Linked DNA regions of Homo sapiens: region 2 is linked to region 1. The links are contacts of gene promoters, found by promoter capture Hi-C in blood cells and fetal thymus (Javierre and others, 2016). All regions are on one chromosome and are shown on one strand. Each heading gives the region's core, a stretch centred on a gene start or on the middle of the fragment in contact. The rest is flanking DNA. Distances are from core to core; before and after follow the strand shown. Region 1 holds the start of PDE2A (phosphodiesterase 2A). Region 2 has its middle 11 kb from the start of P2RY2.

Region 1 (6,697 bases), core at 1,981-4,480:
TTCCATTTCTTTCTCCTTCATCAGACTGGGCACTCCCTGAGAACAGGGACTCAGTCAGTGTCTGCTCTGTGTCCCCGGTGACAAGCCAAGTGGGCACCAAGCAGCTACTGAGAAGTTCCTGTTGAGTGGTTGAATGAATGAATGCAGCAATGGAATCATGCTGAGTCGGGAGATTTCATAGGCCCAAGCAGCAGAAGCCCGGGGAGCGCAGGCCTGGCCTGACAGCAGCATGGCTGAGGGTGAGACTCCCAGTCCATTAAGACCAAGGGGTAAAGGACTGCTGGGAGCTCTTCCCCCCACCCCCGCCCCCACCCCCCACCATTTGGCTAGATCCCAGCCAAGCCATCAGCAGTCCCTGGGGACAGGAGGCTGGAGTGGGAAGCAGGAAGAGTGGCAGGAGCTGCTTGGTGGGCAGGGGGAATGACTGCGGGGGGTGGGGGTGCAGGGAGCATAAAGACAATTAACCCTCACTGAGCTGACCAAGCTCAGCAACCAAGAGGTTCCGGGCAGGGCCTGAAGGAGAATGATATTGAGGGTCAGGTCTGATGAAGAGGTTGAGCCCCAGCCTTGCAGCCAAAGGGTAGTGATGAAGCCATAGTCTCAGTTTCCCTGTCTGGCAAGAGATGGCTCCATGATCTCTGACCCTCTGCATCCTAGCTAGAAACACTACAAAGATCTCTCCCACTACCTCAGCCCACCCACGCCCAGCTTTCCTGAGCCTTCCATGAGCCTTTTCCCTCATGAGATCCTGACTTACTGAGATGTCTGCACTACACCCCTGACCCCAGTCCAAGCCTGAGCCACCTAGACATTCCCTTCCCTGTTCTCATCTATCCAGCCTTTCCCAAGTTCTCAAAAAGCTCCAGAACTCACTGACCCCTGTATTGGCTTGGCCTCCACTCTAGCCTCCTGGCCCCACCTCTCTCTTCCAGTTCAACCCAGACAATGCCACCGAGGCAGGTTTCTTTATTTTTCTTCTTCTTTTTTTTTTTCTTCTTTTGAGACAGAGTCTCACTTTGTCACCCCCAGGCTAAAGTGCAGTAAGGCAATCTCAGCTCACTGCAACCTCCACCTCCCAAGTTCAAGCGATTCTCATATTCTCATGCCTCAGCCTTCTAAGTAGCTGGGACTACAGGCGTGTGCCACCACACCCAGCTAATTTTATTGTATTTCTAATAGACACTGGGTTTCACCATGTTGGCCAGTCTCGTCTCAAACTCCTGGCCTCAAGTGATCCACCTGCTTCTGCCTCCCAAAGTGATGGGATTACAGGCATGAGCCACCATGCCTGGCCCAGGGCAGGTTTCTAGAACCCAAATCTGATCATGTCTCTCCCCTATATAAAACCTTTCTGGGCTCCCCAGGGCTCTCTGGATAAAGCCTAAGAGTCCTGGATCTTAAAGTTCTATTGAATGTGGGTCCTGCCTGCCCCCCACTCTATACAGTGTCTTCACTGCTCCAGGACATGCCCAGCCCAGGGCCTTTGCTTATGCAGTTCCCACCCCACCCCCACCTGTTAGCATGACGTTGATCTCTACTGCTTAATTATTCTCAAGCTATTTTATGTCTAAGAAGCTTAGGAAGCCCCAGAGGGCAGAGTCATTATTGCCTATTTCTTTTCTGCATCTTTCCCACAGGGTGTAGAATGAATTGTCCTGAGTTCAAAGAGGCGGTCATACATTCAGCCCCTCCCTGCCCTGCATCAGTGGGCCATGGTGTCCCAGCTGTATCCTCAATTGCCAGGGGAAGGAAACAGCCACCCACACACACTCAGATGAATACACACATATAGATACACACACACACCAGCCACAGAAGCACCGATATACACACTAGCACCATGATCACACACCCACACCAGAATACTTATACGCACACAGCCACATCCACCTCCACACACAGCAATGCTATTATTCACACACTAACAAATACACACACATAAATGCACATGGAACAGATAAAAAATGCACACTGATTCACTCTATTTTGCAGACACAACACACATAATATACAAACTCAACCTAATAGACACACCTACATACATATGCAGACCAACCTGCACTCACACTCAGACACATGCGAATAAACTCTCACTCACACAGGGATGATCACAAACTCTGACAGGCTGCTTTACATCCAACCACCAAGGACCCTAGAGCTCTACAGGCCCCTCTACACCCAACATGTCCCTTACATTCCACATGTATACACACACACACACACACACATACCCTGCCTACCACCTCGGCAGCCCTTAGTAGAGGGGTGTCGCCACGGCGCCCCCCACTCACTTGCACATGCACCCCCCTGCACGTGGACACACACGAGGCTGGCACCATATTCCATCTGGCTCCGTAGAACCCTATCCTGGGACAGACGCTTTGGGGTAAAGTTTCATAAAGTGGTGTCCCTGAACCCCAATTCCCAATTCCATGGAAGGTGGTTACCTCTAACCCTCTCTTGCTCCAGGGCCACTCTTATTCATATTTTCTCCATCTTTCCCCCTCCCCACCTCCTTCACACACACATAGCCTTGGTGGGCCAAGACACTCTCCCTCTCCGGGTCCTGAACCAGCCTATTGCAGCCCCGAGAGCTCCTCCCAACTACTTGGCAGACCTCCCCCTCCCCACATACACCCTCAGCCCTTGAAGAACCGGTTCAGGTTCATTATCAGCCCCTCCTCCAACCAGCAGCCCCTTCCATGGGACCCCAGCCTCATCACCTACTAGGTTGACGTTAGACACCCTCATTCTGCTCAGAGGTAACCTGCCCCCACCCCAGGCTGCAGTCTGGCAACGCGGGGAGGAGGGGTGCCCAGGAACAGGATCGATCCTTCCACGTGGCTCAGCTCCATGCCAACCCCAGCTCCTTGGAGGGACTCCCAGGACCCTGTCTGTGGCACCTCTCACAGCCGCTCACCACCCCAGCCCCTCACTATACTCACGGCTCAGCCGGTCGCGCTGCCGGGTACTGCTGGCTCCTGCAGAGGATGGAGTGGCCGCATGCCTGCCCCATCACTCCTCATCGTCCGCCTCCCCAGCCAGACTAAGGTGGCACCTCGCCCTGTCCCCGCTGCCTGGAGTTCAGGGCAGGGCACCCCCAGCAGGCACAGGGACCAAGAGCAGTGGGCTGCCCCCTACTCAGCCTGGACTCAACACCCCAATCCAGCTCTGCTGCCCCGCTGCTCCCGCCTCTCCCGCTGCCACTGCCTCTGCTGCTCGGCTGGCTCTGGGAGGAGGTTGGAGCAGGTCTGATAATGCAGAAGGGGGAGGGAGGAGGGAGGAGGAACAGAGAGAGGCCCAGACAGAGAGGGAGAGAGGGAGAGAGGGAGGGGTAGAGAGAGAGTCTGACTGGGAGAGAGGAAAAAAGACTCACAGACAGAGAGACTGAGAGATAAACAGAGACAGGAAGGGGGACAGTAACACATGAAGAGGGAGAGGAGAGAGGGATCAGAGCCTTAGCGAGATCAAGATGGAAGTACAAAGAGACCAGAGAGGCATAGAGAAACACACACACAGAGGAACAAAGGCAGAAAAGGAAAAAAAATCAGAGGCAGAAATAGAAAGAGAGTGGGGTAGGGGGAAAGGGGAGTGGCTGACAGAGGAGAGAGGGGAGAGGACGAGGGATTTACAATCCTCATGGGCTAGGATGGGGCTGGGGACTTGAGGGGCAGCAGACCCAGACCCTCTGCTGCCCCATCGCAGAAGCCTTCAGGATGAGGGGACACGCTTGTGCCCTCAAGTCTGAGAGATCAGGCCTCCATGCACAGCTAGCTGCCCTCTCCTCTGGGCTCCCTCACCCGGTGTGTATCATCTCCTAGCGTGCATCCCAGCCTGGAGCTGGGTCCACGGAAGACTTAGGGGGCTTTACTGATGGCCTTTGGACTCAGAGCCTTGTCACAGGGCCCACCTCTTGGTGGCTTGGTTTAGCTGGGACTTGGAGCTGATGCGTGAGCATGGACTTCTACCAGGATCTGTGGAGACCTAGGCCACAGCCTGCCCCACATGGCCTTCGCTGCTCACAGACTACAGGCATGGGGGAAGGCCTGTTGCACCCCCACCCTGCTTCCAAAGAGGACTCCCTAGGATAAAGCTATAACCTAGTGAAATAGAGGCATTTTAGGCCCTAGGACAGATAGAGAGTTGTCACAGCAGAGCTACTATTGTATGCAGGAGAAACAGCTCCACACCTTGAGGCAGGAAATGGGGATTTGGATCCTGGCTTCACCATTAACTTACTTATTCATTGGCCTACCAGTGGCTGAGCTCATGGCTCACACTATCCCTTGTCTCAGAGAAGCACTCGGGCTGGGGAGTGGGGAGGGGAGACTTGCAGGCTGTGACAGAAAGAAGCACAGGGTCTGTGAAGCCCAGAGGGACCCCTGACCTAGTTTGGGTGGTGGGGGGGCGGTTAGCAAGCATTTCTGGAAGAGAGGGTCCAAGCTGGGTCTTTTAAGGCAGAAGAGGGTATATTCCAGGGTAGAGGAGCTACAGCAAACCCTCCACAGCAACCCCATCTCTCTGAGCTGTGGGGAGAATACCTCCCCGCCACACAACAGGCTTCAAGCAGAGAAGTCCCTGAGGCTGAATAGAAACCTGACCCATGTTGAAGAACATGGGGGTGCACGGTGGAGGGGGCAAGGTCAGAAATGACTGAGCTTGTGTAGATGGCCTGCCCAGGCTGGGTGCTGCAGAAAGCAGTTGTCTTGTGGCCTGGGAAGTGTCAGGAAAGAAAATATGAGGAGTCTTTGCTTCCCACTGTGGCCCCAGAAGGCATCATAGAATTTTAGATCTCTGAACTCTGGGCAAACCATTTTCTCAAAGGGAACGAGGCCCAGGCTGGTTGTAAAGCAGCTGAGCCAGCCCAGAACTCATGTCTTGCTTCTCCACCTCACCTATCACTGGGGCCTCGCTGCTCCATTCCTGACAGCTAGGAAGGCATTCTCTGGGCTCAGGAAGCTGCAGCCCTGGACCATGGCGTCCTGCTCCCTCACAGCTCCCCTTCATGTCCTGGGAACCTGCTCACTGGTCGGAGGAACCTGGCAGCAAGAAGCTGAGTCAGAAGAGTTCAAAGGAGGGTTCCTCCTGGGCATGCATGGGTGCAGGTGTGACGAGGTCTCACCTGGCCCTCAGCCTCCTTTCTGCCCTCCCACTTCAGAAACAATGGTGGTGGCCTCATCTTCAGAAATCTCCTGGGAATACACTCAAGCAAGCAGGTGGAAGGGAAGGTCTCCTCCCCATCCCACTGCCACACCAGACTCCACAGCCACCCAGAAGTGGAGAGTCTGCAGGAACAAACTGCAAGATTCAGGACTCAGAAGGGCTAATGGGCACTCAGGACTTAGAGCCCGGCAGGTGGAATTCAAATCCCAGCTCTGCCAAGTGCCTAGGCAAGGTATTTCACCTTCCTGAACTTCAATTTAGTTTCCTCATCTGAAATATGGGGTCACGAATTCCAAGCTCAAAAGGTTGTGAGGTTTTGGGAATGTCTGAAAAGTTCCCAGTAAATAGTTGCCCCTCTCCTCCCATCTCATTTCCTGAAGTCGTCAGGAGAGTAATAGCCCCAAATGCTGGGATAGGGGCTCCTGTAGGCCAGTGCCGGGATGGGGGAGGTGCATAAAGGGGAGAGAGCTGGAGAAAATCCAAGATTGTTTTTCCCTCCTCCATCAATTGCCTGCCTGCAAGACCGCTCCCAGACGGAGCCAAAGGCCCGACTGCTCTGACTGCGCGCCCCTACCCCCGCCGCAGGCCCCGCCCCGGCCACAGGCCTCTCTCCAGGGTGCTGAACCCTGCGAGCCGTGTTCACAAGACCTGCCCGCCCCGCCGCCCTGCCGGGAGTCAAGAAACACCGTTTTTTGTTAGCTGGGGAACTGGAGGTGGGATGGCAGGAAGGATGCTCCTGGGAGGTAGGGTGGCTGCCCAAAGCGATGGGAAGATTCAGTTCTGGAATCCGGCCTCCGCGCTGCCCCCATAGCCTTGAGAGGACTGCAGGCTCCACAGGCTTCAGCTACCTCTTTGCCGAAGAAGGCGGCTTCTTCTCAGCGCCCGCCCCCGCCCCGTCCTGCGCGGCTGTTTCCCTCCCACCTTCCAGACGGCCCCTCCTCTGTCTCCCTCACTGGTGCACCCTATCTTCGCCCCCTCAATATGGATGCTCCTTGCAGGACGGCGGCCCTGTCTCTCCTCATTCTCCACCCTACTCCCACGGAGCATGCAGCCTTCTCCCAGCATACCAACAACTCCGGGTGTCCCCTGCTGCCCATCCCTCTCCCTGGAGCTCCAGGTGTCCAGGCTGTCTCTTGGACATCTCCTCTGGGAACAACCCGTAGGTCCCTCAAATATTGAACATCCAATACACCTTTTGTTACTATTAAAGGCATCAGCAAACTTCTTAGTTTTTTGTTTTTTGGGTTTTTGTTTTGTTTTTGAGACGGAGTCTCGCTCTGTCACCCAGGCATGGGGAAGGGGTGGAGTGGGGAGTGCAGTGGTGCGATCTGGGCTCACTGCAACCTCTGCCTCCCGGGTTCAAGCAATTCTCCTGCCTCAGCCTCCTAAGTAGCTGGGACTACAGGCACCCGCACCACGCCCGGCTAATTTTTGTATTTTTAGTAGAGACGGGGTTTCACCATATTGGCCAGGCTGGTCTTCAACTCCTGACCTCGTGATCTGCCTGCCTTGGCCTCCCAAAGGCATCAGCAAA
Region 2 (6,697 bases), core at 1,176-3,675, 530 kb after region 1:
ATGGACAGCGGACAGGGGTAGAGGCGGGGCAGTGGGTTGGTGCCTTCCCCACCCTGGGTCAGAGGCTGTCAGAGCCTAGGCCCACCCACTCATGGTGTAACCATGGGTATCCTGGCCACATGCCAACGACATGGTGTTTATGTGGCTCCCGATGAACCTTCCTTCTCCTGAGGGTGGGGGAGCCTGGCCCCTGGGCTTAGGGTACACCTCTCTCTGAACTAAAGAAACATTTCCTGGCAGGGCACAGAGGCTCATGCCTGTAATTTCAGGACTTAGGGATGCTGAGGGGGGGCAGATTGCTTGAACCCAGGAATCTGAGACTAGCCTGGCAAGATGGCAAAAACCCATCTCTACAAAAAAATAAATAGAAAAATTAGCTGGGCATGGTGGGGCACACCTGTAGTCCCAGCTACATGGGAGGCTGGGGTGGGAGGATCACTTGAGGCCAGGAGGTTAAGGCTTCAGTGAGGCATTATCACACCACTGTACTCCAGCTTGGATGACAGAGAGAGATCCTGTCTCAAAACAAACAAACAAAAAAAGTAAAATGAGAAAGAAGAGAAATTTTATATCATGTGCTGGGGGGAAGGGGTTGTCCAAGCTGGGCACTGGGCACACAGAAGATAATTATCAATTTCTGCTTTTGGATAGAGGCAAACAGACCCAGGCCCAGCCCAGGAGGCTTGGTGCTGAGGCAGGGGGACACTTCAAGAATGCAGGAGCCAGAGGAAGGGTCCCAACTCTAGGAACACATGCCCAGGGAATTTGGAGGGCTAATTCTTCCTTCCCTGCCAGTTCCAGGAAGGTCTCCAATAGCCTTTGGGGCCCACACTGGTGGCCTCAGAACAGCTAGGGGTATGCTGAGTCTGCCCGCTATCCAGGCCCCAGATACAGAGTCATGGGCAGCCCGGCTTGTCCTGCTGGACATCAGGAGCGTCACGGCTGCCTCATATGGCCCGTTGGGTAACTGGGAAGAGGCTGACAGTTTGTGGTTGTTGAGTAACCACTGGGCTTCCTGAAACTTCTAGTTTCTTTCAGGACCACTCCCCATCTTCCTCTTTCAGGGCCGGGCTGAGGGCTGGGGAGTATTCGCATGCCCACATTCATTTATCCATTCATTCAACAGTCTCTGCTCACCACCTCCCCTGCTCCTGCCCTGGCCTGGGCTTGGGGGGACCCAGAGAGACGTCCATAGGGTTCTGCCCTCCTGGATTCTCTGGCTCAGACGATGGCCCCATCATATACTCCTGCAGCCAAGGCAGAAATCCAGGCATCAGCCCGGACTCTTCCCTCACGCCCCCTCGTGTGCCCCCTTCTGTTTTCCTGCAGTGCCCTGATGTCCTCTGTTGCATTGTTTATCATCTTTTATTGTAAAGGCTCCAATTGTCCATTTCCCCATCTAGATGCAATGAAGGCAGAGGCTGTGTCTATCTTGTTCCCTGCTGTATTCTGGGCACCTGGCACAGTGCCTGGCACTTAACAGGTGCTAATTAAACACTGTTGATTGAATTACTTAGTCCCTTTGATTCCATTTGCTTGATACTCATTGAATCCATACCCTCCTGTCTCCCCCAGCCGCAGTCTTTGCTCAGATAATTCCACCTGGGCACTGGAGCAGTTTTCTGACTGGGCTGCTTATCTTACCTCCACCATTCAGTCTATTTTCCACATTATAGCTGGAGTGGTCATTCTAAAGTGCCCATCTATCCTACTCTGAATCCTTCCCTGGCTTCCCATTACTTACAGGAACAAGGACACTTTCCTGGGATGATAAAAAAAGGACAGCAGATATGACTGATGAGACTAATCTCCATATCCTGTGAAAATGCTCAAGAAGATATGCAGAAATCCAAAAGCTTGCAGTGATGCTTTAGAAACTAAAGATAAGAGAAGATCACAGGGTAAAGTGCAAGGGAGAAATTGCGCTAACCAGATGGTAGATGGGGCCAGATTGAGAAACACATTCTTAGACAACACACCACCTGCTACTCCCTTTGGAACAGAACAGCATGTGTCATCTGTGCCGTTAACTGACCATGTCTTATCCCCCACCTTTCAAGGCCTTTAAGGACAAAGACCATATCTAATTTATCTTGGTATCTCTGGCACCCGGCACAGGACTTGACACATAGTAGGCACTCAATACATATTTATTGAATGAATCAGAGGATTAAATGAATTAATGAATGAAGAACCGAAGGTTCCAAAGTAGATAAGAGAGACTAATCCCCACTGCCTACACCAGTCTCAGAGACTCAGGGGCAGCAGTGACCAGATGGATGTTTGGTCATGGCTTAACAACACAGAAATTATCTTCCAAGCCGGTCAGAATGATTGAGGGAATGGATTCTGGGATCAGATCATGTAGGTAGTTATGGTTCCACCAGATTTTAGCTGTGTGAGCTTGGACAAGTTATATAACCTCTCTGTGCCTCACCTTGGTCATCTGTAAAATGGAAACAGTAAAAGTACTATTTACAGGAATGTTGTACTGTTTACAGTACTGTTTACAGAAATGTTGTGAGAACTAAATTAATGTGTGTGCATAAATTTAGCACATATGTATTTAGTGTATATATATATACACAAATGCACACACATAATACATGAATTTACATACACAGAGTGCTGTTCAAGTGCCATGATATGATGATGAAAATTCCCCTAATCGACCCCGGTCAGCTTCTTTTTCTGTGTCTACACTGGCTGTCCAATGGTGGAACTGAGACTTCCACAATTATTGAGCTTTACTGCATAAGGTTGAAAGGATCAGGGGGCAGTCCTTAGCCTGGCTTTATTTCCGCCTGATCAAGAGAGAGTGAACAAAAACAATCAATATGGAATCTGTGAGAAGATCTCACAGCACCGGCAGGAAGAAAATTGTCCCGAAGGTTCAGATGAAGAGTTTATTATCTCAGAAATGATTTTCTGTAAGAAAGAATAAAACTCTAAAAGTCATCTGTTTGGTATTCTCAAAACAAACAAACAATCCAGGAAGCTTTGATTTAGTGGTTATTTGCTGAGTACCTCCCAAGTGGGCAAAAGATATGAATAGGCAGTTCATCTAAATGAAGATGCAAATGGCTTTCAAATATATGAAAAGATGGTTGGTCTCACTCATAAGAGAAATGCAAACCACAACTACAGTGAGCTATGATTTCTCACCTATCAGACTGGCAAAAATCCAAGAGTTCCATATGAAAGGTTATGAGGCCATAGGGATTTTACTTTGAGGAATTCGCCCCTCCTTCATTTTCAGCCCTGTTGTTTAGCCGAGATTTCCTCCACTCCAGCTCTGGGGTTGCCCTGCCTGGCTTAAGCTTGCTAATTTCTCATCATCCAGAGATCATTAAAAATTATTAGGCTGGGCACGGTGGCTCATGCCTGTAATCCCAGCACTTTGGGAAGCTGAGGTGGGCAGATCACCTGAGGTCAGAAGTTCGAGACTAGCCTGGCCAATATGGAGAAACGCCGTCTCTACTAAAAATACAAAAACTAGCCGGGCGTGGTGGTGTGTGCCTGTAATCCCAGCTGCTCGGTGGGCTGAGGCAGGACAATCACTTGAACCCAGGAGGTGGAGGTTGCAGTGACCCGAGATTGCGCCACTGCACTCCAGCCTGGGCAACAGAGCAAGACTCCGTCTCAAAAAAAAAAAAATTATTGGGCGACCTTGGGCAAACTACTTAAACATGCTGAGCTTTAGTTTCCTCATCTGTACAATGCAGACAAAAGTAGAGATCCATTAAACACAGCCAGTACAGTGTAAAAAACAGCACCTTCTACTGACTTTGGTAATTTGATAAATATACATTTAAGTATATGTGGTTGACTAATCTAAAGATTTAAAAAGGCCAGGTGCAGTGGCTCACGTCTGTAGTCCCAGGACCTTAGGAGGCTGAGGCAGGTGGATAACTTGAGGCCAGGAGTTCGAGACCAGCCTGGCTAACATGGTGAAATCCCATCTCTACTAAAAATACAAAAATCAGCTGTGTGTGGCAGCGTGTGCTGGTAATCCCAGCTACTCGGGTGGCTGAGGCATGAGAATTACTTGAACCTGGGAGGTGGAGGCTGTAGTGAGCTGAGATCCCACCATTGCACTCCAGCCTGGGTGACAGAGCGAGATCCTGTCTCAAAAGAAAAAAAGGTTTAAAGAATTACAAACTTGATCTTCACCTTCAAAATCATTATAGAAGCTAAAAGCAAGAAAAGCCTAAAAAGTATAGCAAAGAACAAAAAATAAAGCAATAAGGAAGCACAAAAATGAAGCAAAATGAGGCCACATTATTATGAAATATATATAAACAAATTAAGCTAAGTTATTGAAGGCAAATATTTTTATATTCTCATGTTTAAAAACAAAAGTCAACTACATAATATGCTGCTTACAAGAAATACTTAAAATAATACAGAATATCCAAATACATGTATTAAAGATAAACGTGAAAAAAGAGAAAAACAAGTATTAAAAGAATATATGGGGAAGAAATGTTGGAGTAGAAAAACCTTTCTAATTATGACTCAAACTCCAGAAGCCATAAAAGAAGAGATTGGCCAGGTGCCATGGCTCACATCTGTAATCCCAGCACTTTGGGAGGCTGAGGTAGGAGGATCACTTGAGTACAGGAGTTTGAGACCAGCTTGGGCAACATAGTGAGACCTTGTCTCTACAAAAAACAAAACAAAATTAGCTAGGTGTGGTGGTGCACGCCTGTAGTCCCAGGTACTTATGAGGCTGAGGAGAGAGGATTGCTTGAGCCTGGGAGGTCAAGGCTGCAGTGAGCTGAGAAAATGCCACTGCACTCCAGCCTGGGGGACAAAATGAGACCCTGAATAAAAAAAAAATAAAAATAAAAATAAAAGATTGATAAATTAAATCACAGAAAAATTAAAACTTCTATGTTAAAAAAAAGTTACAAACCTAAGTGCTATGATTTGAACATGTCCTCCAAATTTCATGTGTTAGTGACTTAATCCCTAAATTCATTGTTGATTGGAAGTGGGGCCTTCAGGAGGCACTTAGGATTAGACAAAGTCATCAAGGTGGGGCCCACATGATGGGACTGGTAGCTTTATAAGGAGAGGAAGAGAAACCTAAGCTAGCATGCTTGCTCCGTATTGCCATGCGATACCTCTCACCATGTCATGCTACAGCAGGAAGGCCCTCACTAGATGCCTGAACCATGCTCTTGAACTTCCCAGCCTCCAGAATCATGAGCTAAATAAATCTCTATTCTTTATTAATTACCCTGTCTATGGTATTCAGTCATAGCAACAGAAAATGGACTAAGACACTAAGTAAAACCTAAAGACAAATGACAAACTAGGAAAAAATATTTTCAATTCAGGTCACAGACAGAGGGATGAATAATCTTCCTAAAATACAATAAGCTAATGCAAATCAGTAAGACCAACAACTTAATAGAAAAATGGCTAAAGGATATACAGTCATGCACCGCATAGTGATGTTTTGATCAATGATGAACTGCATATACAACAGTGGTCCCATAGGATTATAATACTGTGTTTTTACTGTACCTTTTCTATGTGTAGATATGTCTAGATATACGAATACTTACCATTGTATTACAATTGCCTCTAGTATTCAGTACAGGTACAAGTTTGTGGCCTAGGAGCAATAGGCTATACCATATAGCCTAGGTGTGTAGTAGGCTATACCATCTGGGTTTGTGTTCACGTTCACACAATGATGAAATCGCAAAGTGACACGTTTCTTAGAAAGCATCCCAGTCTTTAAGCAACTCATGACTGTAATGGAAAAGGAAATGGAAATGGATCATAAATTATACTTTTGTTATGAAGATATGCACTCAAAACAAAAAAAAAAACCTGACAAATTAAAACTACACTGAGACATGACTTTTCACCTATCAGACTGGCAAAAATCCAAAAGTTTGATATCACAGTGTTGATGAGGCTATGGAGATACAGGCACTCCCATACACTGCTGGTGGAAGGGTAAATGAATACAATCTCGGTGGCTGACAATTTGACAACAGTTATCACATCTTCAAATGCACAATCCTTTTGATCGAGTAATAAGTTTCTGTGAAATTTTCCTACATATATTTACACCCAAGCAAAAAAATATGTACAAGGCTATTCATTGCAGCATTGTTTGTACTAGCAAAAAATTGGCAACAACCCAAATGTCCACCAACAGAGGACTGGTTAAATACATTATGGTATGACTATACAATGGGATACTATGCGGCCCTTATAAAGAATGAAGAAGCTTCCAATGTACTGACTTGGAAAGATCTCCAAGATACACTGTTAAGTGATAACATGCAAGGGTCAGTGTGTATCTTTATGATACTCTTTTGTGTTTTTTCAAAAAGGAAAATGAGGGAAGCTGAGGCAGATGGATCACTTGAGGTCAGGAGTTTGAAACCAGCCTGGCCAACATGGTGAAACCCTGTCTCTACTGAAAAAAATATATACAAAAAATTAGCCAGGCATGGTGGTGCAAGCCTGTAGTCCCAGCTACTTGAGAGGCTGAGGCACAAGAATCGCTTGAACCTGGAGGGTGGAGGCTGCAGGGAGCCAAGATCACGCCACTGCACTCCAGCCTGGGTGAGAGAGCGAGACTCCATGTTAAAAAAAATTAAAAATAAATAAAAATTAAAAAGGAAAATAAGTGGAAATGTTTGTATTCACACAAAGGAACTCAAGGATA

The links. The method cuts DNA at HindIII sites, captures the fragments that hold promoters and counts their contacts. A CHiCAGO score of 5 or more calls a contact.
Region 2: a contact is called between a fragment that was not itself captured here and the fragment with the promoter of PDE2A in region 1, in 1 of 17 cell types (naive CD4 T cells). The highest score is 5.5, in naive CD4 T cells.

Annotation. Positions count from the first base shown.
Region 1 is chr11:72,671,192-72,677,888 of GRCh38, forward strand. PDE2A (phosphodiesterase 2A) reads right to left here and starts at 3,231. Exons shown (of 31, transcript NM_002599.5): 1 at 2,946-3,231. The coding sequence starts at 3,016. RefSeq lists enhancers at 1,800-2,426, 2,427-3,052, 3,053-3,679, 3,680-4,304, 4,455-4,955 and a silencer at 5,816-5,865. The HindIII fragment of the contact is 6,386 bases long and covers 1,574-6,697 here.
Region 2 is chr11:73,203,895-73,210,591 of GRCh38, forward strand. No RefSeq gene overlaps it. Among named protein-coding and RNA genes, the nearest start is that of P2RY2, 11 kb to the right of the region's middle. The HindIII fragment of the contact is 1,142 bases long and covers 1,855-2,996 here.